Regions from separate parts of the Homo sapiens genome. Here region 1 is linked to region 2. The links are contacts of gene promoters, found by promoter capture Hi-C in human tissues and cell types (Jung and others, 2019). All regions are on one chromosome and are shown on one strand. The core of a region is centred on a gene start or on the middle of the fragment in contact, and the rest is flanking DNA. Distances in the headings are between cores, read along the strand shown. Region 1 has its middle 14 kb from the start of MYH7. Region 2 holds the start of AP1G2 (adaptor related protein complex 1 subunit gamma 2).

Region 1 (2,809 bases), core at 218-2,717, 120 kb before region 2:
AGAATATGTCAAGAAGGAGCTGAGCAGAGAAGCCAGCGTGTCCAAAGCCCCAAGAGGAACTGAAATTGATTCAGAATGGCTAAAGTATGGGAGTAATCAGGGGAATATGACAAGAGAAGAGCCTAGAAGGCAGGTTCAGCTGGTCATGAAGGACCTTCTGAACCAAGTTAAGGAAGTTTGGACTTTAATCTATAGGCACTGAGCAGCTATTAATGTGTATTAAAAGAGATCATGATACTATCTGATTTTATAGAATAGGTGGCATAACCAGTGATTCTTGGGGGAAAGCAACGTTTAGTTTCTGATTCATTTGCATGAGAGATTCTAGACTTGTGGTCACAGGTAAAGAATGAAGAAACCTACCTAGAGAAACTGGGAACTAGAGAAGAGAAAGGGGAAGGGATCCAGGAGAAAGGTACTCAGTTACATTTATACTATTCGGCAGATTCCACCTTCGAAATGTCCCGCCTCCTCCTTTCTTTTCCATTCTCTTGAAAAACACTAGGCAAGCCCCTTTTTCACGTCTGCATAATTGCAACAGCACCTTAACTAGTCTTCCAGAGGCTCATTTCACCAGATGGCTAGCAGACTTGATTTTCTAAAGCACTACCTCTTACATATCTGTCATTCATAGAAACTTCCAGGGCTCCCTGTTGTCTTTAAGATGAAGCCTGGACTCCTCTGGCTGGCATTTAAAGACCCTCCATAAGCTGGCCCAACTGCCCCACCTTATCCCTTCACAGTCTCCCCCCAGGTCTGACTGGTCTATGGACAGCACCCTCACCCCAGGTTGGGCTTTCTCAGTCCCTGACCTTGTCGGGACTTTTTCTGGCTGCTTTTCTAGGCACAGCTCAGTGGCTCTCCTTTGAAAGCACTTGCCAGTCCAACACAGCTGACCCTGAAACACACAAAACAAACTTTGTTGAAACTTTACAACTACAAAAATGACACCCAAGATCTCCTACCCAATCACATTATTCTCCTTTGTTCAGTTCTTTCCAAGGGGTGTGTATATGTGTATAATACATATTTTTTGTATGGCTGCTGTGTGTAGATATATATGTACATAATCTCATAAAACACCAATTAGCATTTCATATTCTTACAATCTTATATTTCATAAATGGGGATAATAATATTGCTAACCTATGGGTTTGCTGTCAGATAACTTAATACAGTGATATAGTTTAAATATGTGTCCCCCCAAATCTCATGTTGAAATGTAATCCTCAGTGTTGGAGGTGGGGACTGGTGGGAGGTGTTTAGGTCCTGGGCGTAGATTTCTCATGAATGGTTTAGCTCCATCCCCTTGGTGCTGTCCTCACCATAGTGTGTGTGTTCTCTCAAGATCTGATTGTTTAAAAGCGTGTGGCACCCTCTCCCTGTCTTGCTCCCGCTCTTGCCATATGACATGCCTTCTCCTGCTTTGCCTTCTGCCATGAGTAAAAGTTCCTTGAGGCCTTCCCTGAAGCTGAGCAGATACTGTAAAGCCTGCAGAACTGTGAGGCAATTAAACCTCTTTTCTTCGTAAATTACCCAGTCTCAGGTACTTCTTCATAGCAATGCAAGAATGGCATAATACATACAGAGATTCTCAAACTTGTTCATGCTGCAGAATCACACAGAAGCTTTGTTAGGACACATTTTCTTGGCTGGGTGCAGTGGCTCATGCTTGTAATCCCAGGACTTTGGGAGGCAGATCATTTGAGGTCAGGAGTTTGAGACCAGCCTGATCAACATGATGAAACCCCATCTGTATGAAAAATACAAAACAATTAGCTGGTGTGGTGGTGCATGCCTATAATCCCAGCTACCTGGGAGCCTGAAGCAGGAGAATCACTTGGGCCTGGGAGGTGGAGACTGCAGTAAGCCGAGATTGCATCACTGCACTCCAGCCTGGGATGCCTGAATTTGCATACCAGATGCTACTGGATTGAGGACCACACATTGAGAACCACTGAATTAATGCATGTAAAGTGCTCAGAATAGTGCCTGGCATGTAGTAAATGCCCAATAAATGGAGCTACGGAGCTATTCATTTGCTATTTCTGAGTAAAAATATTAACATTTACTTGTTTGATATTTAGATTGTTTATAGTTTTAAATAACATTGTTATTGAGATATAATTCATGTGCCATAACATTTACCATTTTACAATATACGATTCAGTAGTTTTTAGTATATTCAGAGTTGTGCAAGCATCACCACTATCAAATTTTAGAACATTTTCATCACCCCCAAAAGAAATACCATACCTATTAGCAGTTACTCCTCTTTCCCACTGACTCCCTGTTTGTAGTTTTTTTGAACTTATAAATAAAGTATCTCTAAACATAAGTACACATGGCTTCTTTTTATTTTGAATGATTTCAATAGAACAAATTCTAGGAGACGAATTCCTTAGTCAAAAATTATGAATATGTTTACATATAGCCACTCTTTGAAAGCATTAATTTACAATCATTGTGGCTTTTTTTCCTGCTGTTGCTTTTCATTGTTAGCATATTGCTTATTCTTACACCGCTTCAGTTTCCTTAAGTTGATGGCACCAGAATATGAGGTCCTTGGGGTTGAGAACTGTAATATTTTCATCTTTGTGTCCCCTAGGGCTACACTACTGAGTGTGGTAGTCACTAGCCAAACATGGCTGTTGGGTACTTGAAATGTGTCTAGTGCAACTGAGACACTGAATTTTTCATTTAGTTAAAATTTAAAATGAAGGGAGATCAATTTATTTTCAACAAAGATTCCAAAACAATTCTTTGAGGAAATGGTGCTGGATACACACATGCAAAAAGATACATTTAG
Region 2 (2,700 bases), core at 98-2,597:
GTCAAACCTCTGAGAAAATCAGTCCTTTTCAATACCCACAACAGGCAGTCCCCTGGGATTTCCAAGGTCCCTACTCTCCCATCTCCCTGATTCCAAGTGATTGCCAGAACCCTCTCACTTCTTGATGCTGTTGGTAATGAGCAGGTGGGCATCGTGCCTCTCATCCAATAGAAGCATGGCCCCCAGGTAGCCCACCCTCTTGTCTGTGAATCTGGAGGAGGCGATCAGTTTCAGGCACTCCATCTATAGTGAAGGGGGCAGACCAGGAAGAGGCAGGGGTGAAACCATAGACACTCACATCCCTGTTCCATCTTCCTCTTTAAAACCAGATTAACCTGTGGGGCATCATATCTCATCACTCTCCCTTCAACAAGAGGAGAAGCTTAGGAAATTCAGGCGTTAGTGGGTAGGAGGAACTAGGAGTTGAGGAGGATGGGAGCGGAGAGGAGGAGATGCCTGCCCTAAAGGAGGCTGGCCAGAGAATGAAGGGTTCAGGCCAGCTGATGACCAGTAGGGGTAGCAATGGGGAAAGAGGTTTGCAGTGCAGGCTGTGAAGACTCTGAAATTGTAGAATTTAAAAAACCAGGGCATAAACAGGTGAGAGAGTCTGGGACTCTGCCCCACTAGCCTTCATCAAGCTCAGGAGGGAGGTATTCCTGGCCAGTACCTGTCCAAAGTGGGCGGGGTAGCCCAACATGTGGACGTAGAGCAGTTTGGCCAGCTGCCGGTGCCTGTGCACTGGGTCCCCGTCGCGGAAGGAGGCCCGGATGTGGGCACACTCCTTTTGGATCACCTCCCGCTCCTGGGCCTGAGTCTTGGCCCCGCGAATCTCTTCGATGAGGTCCTGAAGCTTCAGCGAAGGCACCACCATCCTGACTGGCAGAGTCCGGGAGTGGAGAAACACTCTCTGGTCGGGCGTGCCTGGGCTTTCGGCCCAGGCCCGTCCTGTGTCAAGACCCTAAGAGCCCGGGTCCCACAGGTACCCTAAAATTGCGCCCGCATTTTACCTTTCCCGAAGTGGGTCTCCAAATTCCGCGCCCACCCCACCGCCCGAGAAGCCCACTACGCATGCGTCCGCACCCCACCGGCGCCCCTTCCTATTGAGCATGCGCGGGAGCCCCACCTATTTCTCTCTACCGTTTCCTCCCCCTACCTGGTACCCCATCCCTAGCTCAGCCATTGCTTTTTTTTCCACGACCCTCCGCTGTTTCTTCCGCGAGCTTCCTCCCCCGATTTCCATCTCAGGCAGCGGCAGCGGCAGCGACAGCCTGCCTACCCCAGGACTCCAGCCTCACCTGGCTTCTGCCTCAACTCCGCTCCTCTGCCCCCCAGCGCTTCCTGGTACGGGGCCGAGCAGGGGTTGGTGCTCCGTGCGGTCCTTCCCTCTCCCCGCCTCCACCACGGGACCCCGCCCTCCTGGGCCGACTGCAGAGCCTTCCTGAATCCTCTGACCTCGGGCCTCAGGCTTTAGCGGAGAGACAGCATGATAGGCCTGGAGTTCTTCAAGAGGCCTCCTCGCACATCCTTACCACCCGGAGAGCCTCAGTTTGGATTTGAAGCCATCGCACCCCAAAGGAGATGACAATCCCCCCCCTTTTTTGAACTTTTTTATTAATATATTTTTTTTGTTAAATTTCTTTGTATTTTTTTCCTGCAAGACTTGGTGTTGGCGGCACTGTTGTAGTTTAACTTCAATCCCAAATTCCATGAAATAGAAATCAGAAGTAAAGGTTGAGAGGGGAGGAAGGAGGGAGGCAAGCCAAGGAATAAACAAGAGTTTGACTAGAAAAAAAGAAGAGGGTATGTGTGGTGGGCATTCCTGGGCAAGGCCATTCCTTGAGGGAGGGGGTTGGCAGGCAGCTTGCCTCTGCCTCATGCAGGGGAGGGAGGAAAGATCCCCTGGGGACCCTGCAGTCCCCTCTTCCTAGGGCTTCCTGCTCCCAGGGGAAAAACTAATACCAGAGAGGGATCAGCCACAACCTCAAACAGGGCTCTCCACCCACCTGTCACCCGGGTTTGACTCCCACCTCTGCCCTGCCTGGGAAGCATGTGAGATCAGCTATCTTTGATCCCCTCCTTCTGTTGTTTTCCCATTTCACAAGATTCTGATGTAAAGGGGGAAGGGATATAACCCATTTTGGGACTACTAAACTTGTCACAGCTTCTGCTTCCATGTGAGCTCCTGTTATCTTGTCTGGTCCTATCCCCCAGAAGTGCCTCCTCCCACCACAACTCCCAGAGTTGGGATGTGGGGGCCTTGCTCAAGTGCCTCTAACCCTCTGCAGTAGAAATGTCTTCTTCAGGCCCCTTAGGAATTTAATCAAAGGCCACAAGTGAGTCCAGACCAACCAAATAAACTATTATGGGGGAGACAGAAGGGTGGGAGAAGTCAGTGGCAAAGTCTGGGCAGGGTGGACTTGACTGCATTGGATATTCTCTGTTCCTTTACACGTTGCTCTTGGCATGGCATGCCACCAGAGGGGGCTGGAGGAGGGGCTGGCCGATGAGGAGAAAAAGAGGGAAATGCTGGGGAGTTACTCTACTTTTCACTTCCCTTCTCTCCTTCAGGGAAGGATGGAATTGGGCAGTAACCCAGCTCAGTGCTTGGAGGTAAGATAATAGCCTCCAAGATTAGAGGTGGAGGATGCACCTCCTGCAGCTTTTTCACTAGGCCTCAGAGGGACAGCAGGCCCCTTAGGC

What was found. Contacts are between HindIII fragments. The study calls those that stand out against the background at their distance.
Region 1: a fragment that was not itself captured here is called in contact with the fragment with the promoter of AP1G2 in region 2 in 3 of the 25 tissues and cell types used here (dorsolateral prefrontal cortex, lymphoblastoid cells and spleen).

What each region holds. Positions count from the first base shown.
Region 1 is chr14:23,448,709-23,451,517 of GRCh38, forward strand. No RefSeq gene overlaps it. Among named protein-coding and RNA genes, the nearest start is that of MYH7, 14 kb to the left of the region's middle. The HindIII fragment of the contact is 6,568 bases long and covers 1-2,809 here.
Region 2 is chr14:23,566,444-23,569,143 of GRCh38, forward strand. It overlaps AP1G2 (adaptor related protein complex 1 subunit gamma 2), which reads right to left and starts at 1,348. Exons shown (of 22, transcript NM_003917.5): 1 at 1,296-1,348; 2 at 668-876; 3 at 119-243. The coding sequence starts at 871. It overlaps JPH4 (junctophilin 4), which reads right to left. Exons shown (of 6, transcript NM_001146028.2): 6 at 1,595-2,700. It overlaps AP1G2-AS1 (AP1G2 antisense RNA 1), which reads left to right. Exons shown (of 4, transcript NR_110555.1): 3 at 1-979; 4 at 1,246-1,633. RefSeq lists enhancers at 561-650, 681-920 and silencers at 1,401-1,450, 2,440-2,539. The HindIII fragment of the contact is 7,450 bases long and covers 617-2,700 here.